Regions from separate parts of the Homo sapiens genome. Here region 1 is linked to region 2. Evidence: promoter capture Hi-C in human tissues and cell types (Jung and others, 2019). All regions are on one chromosome and are shown on one strand. The core of a region is centred on a gene start or on the middle of the fragment in contact, and the rest is flanking DNA. Distances in the headings are between cores, read along the strand shown. Region 1 holds the start of LOC105377889 (a long non-coding RNA gene). Region 2 holds the start of ANKRD6 (ankyrin repeat domain 6).

Region 1 (6,779 bases), core at 3,110-5,609, 79 kb after region 2:
ATACCTACCACCTGCATAAATTCTATATTTTATTAAGCTTGCTTTATCACCTAGATACCACCTGTATTCATTATTTATTGCTGTATAACAAATTACCCCAAACTTAGTACTTTATTTAAAACAATAAACATTTAGTATTCCGTACTGTTTTTGTGCGCCAGGAATCCAGGAGTGGCTGGGTGGTTCTGGCTCAAGGTCCCTTGTGAGGTTGCAGTCTAAGACATTGGCTAGGGCTGCAGTCTTCTGTGCTTTGATTGAGCCTGGACAATCTGCCTCCAGGAGGTCTCACCCACATGGCTGTTGGCTTGAACCTTAAAGGATAGCTCTGGTCAGGTACAAATGGGTGTTGACAGTAAGTGACCTAGAAGTGATGAGAGTTGGGGAAATCAGGGAATTCCCAGGAGGTGGAACTTGCCATAGCATCCCAGCCAGGGCACAGGTGCAGAAAGAGAAAGTCATATGAAGTGTAAAGCAGAATGAGAGCATGGCTCAGAGATACGTGTGGGGGGCAAAAAGGATTTCCAGCAGAAAAGATAGATTACATTGGGGGAGGTGGCTTTAATGGCTCCTAAAGGGAGGGTGCCTCAGCTACTGAGATTGAAATTGTCGGACACGGTCATCAACATTAGAAAAACAGCAGCACTGAGATTTATTTTCCTGGTTACCTATATTTTATTCACATATTTAAGTGTTAAACTGAGGTTGAAATGTTGTGAATGGTCCCCACTTCTTAAAGCTTTGCTCTACTGGGAGATTTTTAAGAAAATCTCACGGCACATCTTCCTAATTTTTAAATTTGTATTCCTGTTCCTGACCCCAGAATAGGCCCAACTAGACAACAGATCTGTGGGAATGTTTGGCTCTCCATGAACCACAAAGACTCCTCCAACACAGAGGTGCAGTACCCACCTGGGCCAAGGAGGGAAGATGCAGGTGAGGAGGGTGCTTCCAAAAGGTGTGTGGAGCTGTTTGTTGAGGGCCATGAAGCTCTTGCACAGGGATGGGAGGAGGCAACTAACCAGGGCTCTGGGTGGAGGCCAGCTGCCCTCCCTCTGGGCGACTGTGCACCCTCCCACTCTCCCTGGGAGGCGGGCGCTTCCTTTGAAGTGCACCAGTGACCTGCCTCTCTCCTGGCTGCTTCCTGATGTCTTGCTGGCAGCAAGTGGGCTAGGGTCGGCTTGCCCAGAGGGGCGCATCCAGGTGGGGTTCACCTTTCTGAACCAGGTAGGGAATGTCTTGGTGCTCCCTTGATTTGAAGGGGAGGACCATCCTTTATTGGCAAAGAACAGAGAGCAAACAATGAAAAGACCACACTGGGCCAAGTCAGTGACCCATGAATAAGGAATTCCAAGCTTTTAGTGCGGGAGAGCCTTGGAAATCATCTCATACAGCCCCTTCACTTAAAGATAAGAAAGAAACATGAAGCCAAGGGACTGGACAACTAGTTTAAGGGTGGGCTAAGTAAGACGTGGAAGTCCTGGTTTTCTGTTACTGAGGGCTGCAGTTTATTTTATGCCTACTTTGTATGTATTGGATTCTGTAGAATGACAGTTCACACAGTGCCAATTCATTATATTACAAAGATAAAACATTGCCTTTATTTTTTTCTCAAAATAATAAAGGTTATATGGTACTTGCGGCATTAGCACTTGCCAGGTACTGTTCTCCCTTCCTGACAGATAGAAATCGTCATTTAATCTTCTAACAGACCTATGAGGTGAATACCATTACTTTCCCCACTTTATGGGTGAGGAAACTGAGGCCCAAAGAGGTCAAGTTAACTTCTCCCAAGTAATGTGGTGATGTCTAGATAGTGAGTGACAGCATTGGGATTTAAGCCAAGTATGCTGACTTCACAATCCATGTTCTTAACCACACTATACCTTAATCGCCAGTGCAAACATTAGCGCTGTTTACTGGCTTTTCAAAGCTTTCTGTTTTCCAGGCATGTGATGGGCTTGCGTTTCCTGGCCTCCTTGTGTTTTTGGAGCCATGTGACTACTTCTAGCCATGTTGAGAGAAGCATGCTATATCACTTTTGGGCTAAGTCACTCTGTCACCAGTGTGTGACCCTCCAGATCTCTCTTGCCCTCTGCTGTGGAGACTGGCAAAGCTCCAGATGGTGGTTGCTCTGTCAGTCTGGGCAAGTTGGAGAGGAAACAGCCTCAGCCAGCCCTAAGTGGGTGTAGCATAAATGCAAAATCAACTTATGTTATTTAGCCACTGAGATTTGAGGCTTGTTTGTTACTACAGCATAATTTAGCCTATCTTGAGTCACATAATAATCTCTGATGTGCCTAACGTTTTAAGGGGCACATTAGCAAATAGGTTGGCCACTTAAAAGTCTTTCCAAATAGTTTTTTTTTTTTTTAGCCTCATTGGGAAGCATTCATGTTATTCTTTATATACAGAAAGCACCTGGTACTGTGGCAATAGCATAGAGCAGAGCTTGAGATGGAAAGTTCTGTTTTTTGGTCCTTATTATTTTTGCTAATTCAACAGCTTTATTGATATCTAGTTCACATACCATAAAATTTACTTAAAGTGTATAATTCTGTGGGTTTTGGTATATTCATAGAGTTGTGCAACAATCATCTCAATTAATTTTAGAAGACTTTCATCACCTCCAGAAGAAACCTGTACTTATTAGCAGTGACTCCTATTTCCCCCCAATCTCCCCGGCCCTAGTCTACAAGTGATACAATTTCTGTCTCTGTATTTGCCTTTTCTGGACATTTTATATAAATACAATCATATAAAATGTAAGTTCTGTGAAGGATCTTGGCTTTGCTCTATGCTGTAACTCTGTACCCCTCACAGTACCTGTACATAGTAGGTGCTCAGTGTATATCTGTTGGGTAAGTGAGTGGTTACTGAAGGTCGGAGTGGAGAGCCGGATGGTGATGGCTGGTGTTGCTTAGCATTGCCCTGGACAGGGAATAAAGGGAGCGGTAGAATCACCTGCTGACAACATCTCCTCTTCATCCAGAGACTTCTGTGTCAGGGCTTATTATAAGGATGTGATCATAGGCCCAGTGAAAGCAGCTACCCTTGACATGGGGTAAGTCATCTATAAAACACCGCATTGCAAGGCTGAGGTCATGAAGGGGTACGAGTGGGCCCACCACAGCCCGATTCCTCTTCCTCCGTAGACTCTTCCCAAATACACACTTTTCTCAGGACCTCACTGGATTCCTTCTCCTCTCAGGTTCCTGGCTTCCCTTCCCTGGCTACCTGGCCAGGGCTATGGCTTGTAGCCATTTCTCAGAGGCACACACTGAGGCATTGGGAGATTCCTGCTCCTGCTCTGAGTAGTGCTGCAGCCATTCCTGGCTTGCTGGTCTGGATTTTCTACCCCTACCTGCAGACCCAAGTCTGGGTACCCTGTTTGCCTTAAGTACTCATCTTGCATTATTTAAGACTACAAGGAGGCAAGAGTAGTTAGTGGTTAAAGGCATAGTCTGTGGGGTCAGGCACTCTGAAGCTTGAGGGCCAGATCTGCCATTTATTAGCTGTGAATCTCCAGGTGAGTTACTAAACCTTTTTGAGCCTTTGTTTCTAATCTGTAGAATGGGCATATGAATAGTAATATGAATAAATTTGTAAGAGTTACATAGAATAATGCATAGAAAGTGCTTAGTGCAATGCCTGGCCCAGGAAAATGTTTGCTATGGCTTTTGATACAATCTAATTTGGTCCTGATATTGTTGATGTCACTATTCCCTAGGGAACAAAAGAACTACATTTTTTTGTTTGTTTTAGGATTACCTTATGATTTGCAAAATGATTTTGTGGCAAATAACTGAATTCCCTGTGCTTGTCATCTTCTGAAAGGGAAGTCAAAGGAAGTGAATAGAGAAATGTGGCCACAGCAGAGACCAAAGAACCTGACTGTTTTTTTAATTTTTAAAAACATTAAAAAAATTTTTTTTTTGTAGAGACAAGGTCTCACTCTGTTGCCCAGGCTGGTCTCGAACTCCTGGGCTTAGGTGATCCTCCCACCCCGGCCTCTCAAAGTGCTGGGATTACAGGCCTAAGCCTGACAGTTTGGTCTTAGGTATGCTCCTGATTGTGGGGTTACCTTGACTGTTCTTTGAGTCCTGGAGAAGTCAACATGAAAGCAGTTACAAGGTCATATGATAAGCCTGTATGGGCCATGTAGATAGACTTCCATGCATAGATGGTATAGAAAAGTAAAAATTATCTTCTGCTTTGATCGTTGTTACTCCCAACATAAACTTACAGCAACAGTCTTAAACGCCAGTCAATGCTATATTTGTAAAACATCCAGTAGAGAGGTTGGGTCTCCTGATGAACAAAGGAAAGTTTGCAGTGTTAAGTGTCATACAGATTTGTCATTGCACTCTATTCTCTCCACTCCCACATGAACTACCATGGGGCAAATCTAAGCCACCTCTTGGTTTTGGTCTCAGAACAATGAGTGTCTGTTTCTAAGTTAGGGGGCGGAGTGCAGTCATGGGTTTTGGGGATCCCATACTGTCACTGGCAGCCAGCTGTGCAGCCTGGAGTGTGGGGCTGTGGCCAGGGTGGGCACAAGGAGCAGCATCTGTGTTTGTCTGTTGGGGTAAACCTGGACTTTGGCTGGAGGAGATATTTTCAGTGCTTTACCAGTATTAGTGAAGCATGGAATTGGATTCCCTGGAAGTGTCAGAAATGCCAATAAGCTTAGCAAATGGCTGTGCAGCATGTTGCACATAAATATCAATTTTAATCAGATACTGATTGGGATAGATTTCATAGCTAATCTAGAAGAAGTAATAATCTTTGTTGTCTGTCTTAGAAGAGTGAATGGTTTCCACTCAGAAAATTCAGATCTGGAAGCTCATAGTTCATAGCTGTTTTTTTCTTTTCTATTTCTTTTTCCTTTTTTTCTTTCTTTTTCTCTCTTTTTTTTAAGAGATAATGTCTTGCTCTGTTGCCCAGGCTGGAGTGCAGCGGTGGGATCATTGCTCACTGCAGCCTTGAATTCCTGGGCTCAAGGGATCCTCCTGCCTCCGCTTCCTGAGTAGCTGGGACTATAGGCATGTGCAACCATGCCTGGCTAAATTTGAAAAAGTATTTTTAGAGACAGAGACTCACTATGTTGCCCAGGCTGGTCTCAAACTCCTCAGTTTCCTGAGTAGCTGGGATTACAGGCATGAACCACTGTGCATGGCTGTCATGGCTGTTTTTTCTTTTAACTTTCAATTAAAATATATACCAAATGAAAAGTGCACAAACCGTAAAAATACAGATTGATGAATTTTCACAAAGGGAATGCCATCACGTAACTACCACCCAAATCAGGAAATTGAATACTGCCAAATTTCCAGTATCCCCCCTCCCAATCCTTAACCTGCTTTCCCCTCCAAATCACTCTCTTGACTTATAATGCAATCGATGACTTTTGCCTGTTCTGAATTCTATATAAGGAGAATCATATGGCATATCCTTTTTGTATCTGACCTCTTTTGCTTAGCAGGATATTTGCAAGATTTATCCACATGGTTATAAATAGTAATAGTTTATTGATTTACATTCTTATGTAGTATGAACATATATCACAGTTTATCCCTTCTGCTATTTATGTACATTTTGGTTGTTTTACAGTTTTAAAAAATTATCTGTATTTTAAATTTCATTTTCAACTTTGCTGTTAAATTACCAAACAATAAACTACTTAAGAACATAACCTAAATATTTTGGTTAACTACATTCTGGAACAGAAAGGCATTAATGTTAGTCTTAGGTGGCAGTGAGCTTCACAGAGACACACAAAGAGAGAGCAAAGTGAAGAACAAGGCAATCTCTCCCTATTTATGGCATGGCAAAGCAATTCAGAATGCGTTCACTATTTCTATAGATAAATTTTTTAATGTATAATGTGGGAAAATTTAATGTTCCAATTTATGAAAACAAGAATTATCAGACTGTCACATTCCAATGACTTAAGTAGCTAAACCTTACATCAAGCTTGTCTCACCCGTGGCCAGTGGGCTGCCATATGGCCCAGGATGGCTTTTCATGTGGCCCAACACAAAGTCGTAAGCTTTCTTAAAACATTATGAAGGGCCGGGTGCGGTAGATCATGCCTGTAATCCCTGCACTTTGGGAAGCCGAGGTGGGCAGATCACATGAAGTCGGGAGTTAAAAACTACCCTGGCCAACATGGTGAAACCCATCTGTACTAAAAATACAAAAAATTAGCCGGGCATTGTGGCATGTACCCGTAATCCGAGCTACTTGGGAGGCTGAGGCAGGAGAATCGCTTGAACCTGGGGGGCGGAGGTTGCAGTGAGCTGAGATTGTGCCACTGCACTCCAGTTTGGGTTACAGAGCAAGACTCCATCTCAAAAAAAAAAATTTTTTTGGAGTTTTTGTTTTGTTTTGTTTTGTTTTAAGCTCATCAGCTATTGTTAGTGTTAGTGTATTTTATATGTGGCCCAAGACAATTCTACTTTTTCCAATGTGGCCCAGTGAAGCCAAAAGATTGGACACCCCTGCCGTAAATGGAATTAAAATGTTGGGCATAAGATATCCTCAAAAGACTGTCATAATATATTTTGTGGAAATAGTTCACTTCATTTCTATGATTAGATGGATTACCAATAATTTATAGTTTATTATGAGTAATGCTGCAGTGAACATTCCCCATATGTCCTTTGGTGTACATGTTTGTATTTCTGTTGATTATATACCTAGAATTGGAATTGTTTGGGCATGGGATATATAGATGTTTGGCACTACCAAACAGTTTTCTAAAGCAGTTATACCAGTTT
Region 2 (6,872 bases), core at 418-2,917:
AATGGGGCACAAATCTGAAGAAGGGCTGGGCGCGGTGGCTCACACCTGTAATCCCAACACTTTGGGAGGCTGAGGCCGGAGGATTACTTGAGCCCAGGAGTTCAAGACCAGCCTTGACCTCCTCTGTGTTAAACATAAAAAAATTAGCTGGGCATGGTGGTGCACACTTGTAATCCCAACTATTCAGGAGGCAGAGGCAGGAGGATTGCTTGAGCCCAGGAGTTCAAGACTGCAGTGGGCTACTGCACTTCAGCCTGGGTGACACAGCAAGGCCCCATCTTAAGGGGGAAAAAAAAGTCTGGAAAAGGCCAAAGGATACTCAGAAGAGAGATTTCACATCCTGTTAGGTAAAACTGCAGCTGTGACTATGGGGTTGGGAAAATTTCAGAAGCAGTAGGAGAAAATCAAGAACTTCCCCTTCCTAGTGTGGAAACAGGCTCTTGGGATCTCTCCTGCCTAATGATCCCTGAAGGAGAGAGGGAAACAAACATCTTAAGGAAAAGGAAGAAATCATCATGTTTCTTTTCTCCTGGAAACCAGGCCTGTTTCAGAGGGAATAAGAAAAGTCGGCTGGGTGCAGTGGCTCATGCCTGTAATCCCAGCACTTTGGGAGGCCGAGGCTGGAGGATCACGAGGTCAGGAGTTCGAGACCAGCCTGACCAATATGGTGAAACCCCATCTCTACTAAAAATACAAAAATTAGCCAGGGATGGTGGCGGGCACCTGTAATCCCAGCTACTCAGGAGGCTGAGGCAGGAGAATCACTTGAACCTGGGAGGCGGAGGTTGCAGTGAGCCTAGATGGTGCCATTGCACTCCAGCCTGGGTGACAGAGTGAGACTTCGTCTCAAAAAAAAATTTTAAGCAAGAAAGAAAAAAAAATCAGATTCGTGATAAGCTTGTCCCAAAACCTCAGGTAAGATTGATAGTCCATTTTAGGGTGCTGCTTGCCTCCTCTTCCATCTCTCCGCCTTTGGAGAGCAGATACCTGTCCATGCTTCTTCAAAGGGTGGAATGAGATCCCATCCATCTTACATGTATTCAACAGTAGCTTATTGAATGCTTCCTGTGTTCAGGGAGCTCTTCTAGGTATTGAAGAAGTGGCTGTGAATGAAAATAGACAAAACCAGACTGAGATAATGGTATGTAAAGTGTGATATGAATATGGGGGTCAGGCTCGCTCAATGCTTTTGCCATTTCCATATGGGATGATTCCAACAAGATACTTATAGTCAAGCTGTTAGAAATAAAGGCTTCCTTTCCCCTCTCCAGCTACCCCAATAAATCTGGGTCATTCATCATTGTTGTTCAGTTTGTACTGAGCAGCCCCAGTTAAGTGAGCTATGGTTATATTGAAATATCCACTTGGCCACGAATTGAGTGAAGGTGGGAGGTTCCTCCTGCTAATTCTCCTCCCCTCCCAATACACTTCCTGGCAACCCCCACGCGGAAAACCTCACCCTACTATAGGCCCCCTTCCTCCCACTCTTCAGAAGGCGGTGGCCCCACCCAGGAGAGGGCTGCAGATCGGGGCCAGCCCCAGGGCCTCCGCGGTGCCACCTCTCTCTCGCGAGGGTCCCTGCCGTGCCCCGGCTCGCCGCTGGGAGGCGCTGCGGCACCGGCGTAGGAGCCGCCGGCAGGGGTGGGGCGGGGCCGGCGGGACGGGGCAGAGGGCCCTGCGGCGGCGGACGCGGCGGGCTCGGCCACAGGTAACCCGCAGGAGCCGAGAGCGCTGCCTGGCGCGCGGGCGGCTGGAGGCACGGCGCTGGGCGGCGCCGAGGCCCTGGGGCCGCCGGAGCCAGCGGGAGCCAGTCCCCGTCTTCGCCCCTCGCCCCCCACCGTGTCGCCGGCCTTGGTCCCTGCGGCGCGGACGTCCGGCGCGGGAGAGAAAGGTACCAGGCGACCTCGCCGGCTCCCTGGGACCCCCGCTTACACCGGGGTGGGCGCCTCAGGTCGGGGAGGACGCTGTCGGGGGAAGGGGGCGCTGCTCCCTCGGCACCCCAGGATCGCCGACTGCCCGCGGAGGAGACCCGGACACCGCGCCTCGCCCCCTGGCCTGCGGCCTCCGAAAACGCCCGGCGCGAGGGGGTCCCCCCGGGGCGCCTCCCTCTTCGCCTGGCATCAGTTGCCTCCCTGGAATATGGAACTTCGGGCGAGGGAGGTGGAGAACTTTCTTCTGGGGCTCGTCCCTCGTTCTCCTGCTCGCTTGCAGTTTGAAGGAAGGGCGGTGGGGGCGGGGGTCCGAGTACCCCGCGGTCTGCGGCGCGTAGGAGGGTAGGTCCCTGGCCTGCGGCCGCCTCCGAATGACCCCGTCCCTCCCCGCCCTGGACGACAGCACTAGGGTGCAGTCGCAGGAGAGGGGCCGATACCCCTCAGGAGCCCCATCGGCGAAGCCTCAGCAAGTGGCATCTCCCGGGGTCCAGAGAGTCGGCGTGCTGTCTGGTTTGGGTCCAGACATCAGCTCACCCAAGCTTATCTTGGGCTTTTAAGTGTGTTGCTTCCGGTAGATCTCGGGGACTGGAGGGGAAGTGCAGCATTATTTGTGACCCAAGAGGGACTTGAATGTCTCAAAGCTGGTCAAGAATGTTTCCCCCGCGAGGTAGCATGAGATGGGTCACGTGGTAGTAAAGAGCCACTTCGGGCCCGTGAGATGGAGTTCTGACTCCACCACTTGTTAGGTGTGTGACTTTGGAAAACCCACTTCTTTAAACCTTAGTTTTTAGAACTCTAAACTGCAGGTATTGTACATAACCTCGTAGTATTGTGTTCATGCAGTGAAGTGATGGGAATGAAATGCTTGGCATTGTACTCTTGTGTGTTAGACACCTTTTGCGAACCTGTTGGATGTTGAATTCATTCATGCTTAGGTTCTGTTAGGCCAGTGTAAGTGGAAAGAACTTGGGCAATGAAGACAAACACACCTGGGTCCAAGGTGGTCCCATCCATGGTATACTGATTGGGGGTTTCTCATCCCCAAAACACCAATAGCAGCCTTGGCGGGGTTTTTGTTGTTGTTGTTTTGAGACAGAGTTTCGCTCTGTTGCCCAGGCTGTAAGCTTTGACCTCCTTAGCTCAACCGATCTTCCCACCTCAGCCTGGGACCACCACACCTGGCTAATTTTGAATTTTTTTATTTTACTAGAGACAGAGTCTCACTGTGTTGCCTAAGCTGGTCTCGAACTCCTCCTGTCTCAGCCTCCCAAAGTGTTGGGATTACAGGTGTGAGCCACTGTACTGGTCTGCAGCCTTGTTCTTGAGTGTAGTAGGTGTGTCTATACCGATACATGTTACACTTTGTCATCTTTAGTATTTGTTTAGCATATGGTAACAAAAAATTTTTTAAAAATTAGGGATACAAATTAAAATTGGGGAGTATTTTCTGCCCTCTAGGTCATACTGGACATGGGGGAAGGGTAGAAGAGGGATGAAGAGGAATTAAAGAGACCAGAAAACAACTAGTCGCAGTGTTGGGAGGTATAAACCAATGGTAATTTTTAAAAATGTGAATTTATTAACTCCTTGTTTTTTCATGGTGGCACCAAAAATTAATCTTAGTCTCCCACTTAAACTCATCAGCCTCCCCAAAGCCTTTCCAGATAAGCATATGCTCCATGTAAAAGCAGACTGCCTGCGATCCAACTCAGCTTAGAGACAAGGCACACTTCCAACTCCCAAGGCCTCCTTCTTGTATAGAGATGCTGGTGCTGCCACTGTGAAATACATCATACACTCAGACAGTATAAACCTTAGAGTGCAATGTAAAGAATAACAATAGATCACACCCAAGTACGAGTCACCCGGCTGAAGAACTAGAACATCGCCAGGCCCCTGGAGCCCCTGAGTACCCCTCTCCATTGCCTTCCACTCACTTCTCGCCTCCCACCCAAGGAACCACTATTCTGGATGTTGTGTTAACTTTTTCCCTTGCTTATATGAAAAACCCTGAGGAAAGGAAGTTTCCCAACAAGCATTTCCACAATAACCTGGAGCATTCTTTATTTTTCTTTTTTTCTCAAGGAGCATTGTTATTGAACTTAAAAGCAGGCTATTGAGGGTAAGATACAAACCACAAAAAAGCCGAAAGTCTCAAAGTCGGGGGATCTTTTAGTCTCTGTCTTCTTCCAAGTTTCTCCTGTCTCCCTGGCACGGATCCCGAAGGTGTGTTCTGTCTGTGTAGGGGAGACCCAGTCTCTTCCAACATAGATTGATGGCTGTGATTTTAAAAGCTTTGCTTGAGTCCCTAAGAAGTGGGAAAACAGTAATTTGGGTGCGTGCGTTTTAGAAGTTTTTTTAAAAATGCAAATTATCCAGAAGGCATTGTGTGGGATTTGAAGGATTAAGCTAAGAGTGACCTTTAAAAATGGTTTTAACAACCCAAATTCCTCTTCCTGGTTGATATGTTTGTGTTATTGTCTTTGTTTTATTTCTTCAAGGTCACATGGCTTTCCTTGGTGAATCTTACACTGTTTTGTTACTTCTTGGTTAAGGCAAAGATTCTGAAACTTGGTTTCATGGAGCCCTTAGTGTCTGAGTTAATTTTTTCACAATTCCCTTAGGCTTCAGTAGTTAGTAATTTTTTCACAATTCCCTTAGGTTTCAGTAGTTAGTAGTTAGGTTCAAACAACTGAGTATTTACTTAGAAGTTGTTTGAAAAAATAATATACATAAACTGAGAGAAAAAATATTTTACATCCTTTAAAGTCATAATTACTAACCGTATGTGTGTGCCTATACTACTTTTCAAACCTTGGGATCGTGTTGGACACTGCCACTCTCATTTCCTGTTTCACATTAATATTTCCGCAGCATTTGGCTTTTATCACAGCAGCCACAGAAAACCCAGCTTTGCAAAGATGTATTGTCTTGGATAGGAATGTAACATGATCTACTGTTGAAACTGCAAACTACCTCCAGTTAATAGGTTCAGCAGTGTCCAGACATGTTTGGTATACTAGTTTCCATTGAAATTTTCAGATTTTCTACATTGCCCATTTTAATTTGCTATAGTTGCAAAACACCCAGTCAGGGGGTCCAAAATAGTAAACTTTGAAAACATTATGCTAGGTGAAATAAGTTAGTCACAGAAGGGACAATATTGTATGATTCTGTTTATATTAGGTACCTAGAGTAGTCATACACATGGAGACAGAAAGTAGAATGGTAGTTACCAGGGGTAGGGGGAGGACAGAATAGGGAATTCATGTACTATTTTTGCAACTTCTATGTAAGACTAATATTATTTCAAAATAAAGTTTTTAAACGTTTTTTAAAAACAAATTCTGTTGATGGTGCCCCACTGCTGGACTGTACCAAGGCACTGAGGTTAGGGACAGCAGCAGAGAAAAGCTTAGGGGTGACATTATCTCTATTTCCCAGCTCTTCCTCATCCCGTCAAGGGGGAAGAGATGGAAGAAATAGCTATGTTCTCTCTCTTTTATAGGGAAGTGTCTGCATTATTTACTGGTGGGTTCCTTTATAAACCTGAGGATCAGCTATTAAATTTGTCACTAAAATAAGAATTTTTAACCTGGGGTTCAGTGGTGGGCTACAAATACTCTAAGATCTCCCAAAATTATGTATAAGTATTTAAGTGAATGCTCTTATGTATGTTTGAGGGGGAAGAAGTTCCATAGCTTTCATCAGATTCTCAAATGGTTTCCTAAGTCAAAAAAGGTTAGTAAGCGCTATAAGGAAATATTTACAGATTCCTACCTACCCCCACCCCATAAAAGGCCCCTTTATTTGGATGTCTTATCCCATTTCAGTTCTCTGACATATCTTTCCCCCACCAGTTACAAGAGGCTTTCTTTCTGCTCAGACCCCAGATAAGCCCGACCAGTTCTTTTTCCTCAGAGCCCCCAGCTATTCATCTGGATCCTGAAAACTCCAGGACCAATTCCTCAAGAGCCAAAGGAAGTCCCAGAATGAACATCTTGGACTTCTGAATAGGGCAGATGTGGAACTGAAGTCTCACAACTGCCACATCTCTCTGTGCCCTCCTTAGGTCTAGAAAAATATGAAGTAAATAATAATATATTAGGTACACAGCTATGGAAAAACTCATGAAGATGGTACTGAATGACTGAAGTCCAGTACATTCTGCTTTGGGGGAGGCAAATTTAATTTTAAGAGTGTCTTCTGGTTTACACTTTATGTTCCAAATGTATTCTAAATATAGCATACAATACGTCCTACCTTGTTTCATATCCAGTGATACAGATGAGCTATAGAATTTACACAGTGTTAGAAAAGATGTTAAATATCAGAATTTACTTAATAAGTAGGTCTCTACTCATTCAGACTGGTTTCATTTTATTTTATTTTATTTTTGAGGCAAGGTCTCGCTGTCACCCAGGCTAGAGTGCAGTGGTGCAATTTCAACTCACTGCAACCTCTGCCTCCTGGGCTCAAAGCCATCCTCTCACCTCAGCCTCCTAAGTAGCTGGGACTACAGGCACATAACACCACGCCCTACTATTTTTGTATTTTTGGTAGAGACAGGGTTTCACCTTGTTGCCCAGGCTCACACTGGTTTTAAACTCAGATGAATGGGGTAGGTAAGTGGCAAAAATGGTAACCTGCAAGCTCTTCTTATACATATGATTCCTCAATAGTTGCATTTATCTTAGAAATACTTCAATAAATCATGATTTGAGTCTTTCACCGATACAGGTATATTCTGTATGCTGTAAGGTAGGCTAACTGCTGTAACAAACATTTCCAAACCTCAGTGGTTTAATCTAGCTCACACAAGTCCTAATCAGTTATTCCTGTTGGGCAGCTCTCCTGGGTAGCTGTCCTTCAGGTGACTCAGGGATCAAGGTTCATTCCTTCTTGTGATGCCACCATCTTCATGTGGTCTCCAGAGTCACT

Evidence for each region. The method cuts DNA at HindIII sites, captures the fragments that hold promoters and counts their contacts. A contact is called where the count stands out against the background at its distance.
Region 1: a contact is called between a fragment that was not itself captured here and the fragment with the promoter of ANKRD6 in region 2, in 2 of the 25 tissues and cell types used here (dorsolateral prefrontal cortex and mesenchymal stem cells).

What each region holds. Positions count from the first base shown.
Region 1 is chr6:89,508,026-89,514,804 of GRCh38, forward strand. The region is part of intron 1 of ANKRD6 (ankyrin repeat domain 6); the gene reads left to right. It overlaps LOC105377889 (a long non-coding RNA gene), which reads right to left and starts at 4,156. Exons shown (of 3, transcript XR_001744257.2): 1 at 4,082-4,156; 2 at 2,824-2,928; 3 at 249-311. The HindIII fragment of the contact is 3,304 bases long and covers 2,708-6,011 here.
Region 2 is chr6:89,431,485-89,438,356 of GRCh38, forward strand. ANKRD6 (ankyrin repeat domain 6) reads left to right here and starts at 1,668. Exons shown (of 16, transcript NM_001242809.2): 1 at 1,668-1,891. LOC124901360 (a long non-coding RNA gene) reads right to left here. Exons shown (of 2, transcript XR_007059675.1): 1 at 1,933-6,872; 2 at 1-1,103. RefSeq lists a silencer at 1,460-1,939. The HindIII fragment of the contact is 2,888 bases long and covers 1-2,762 here.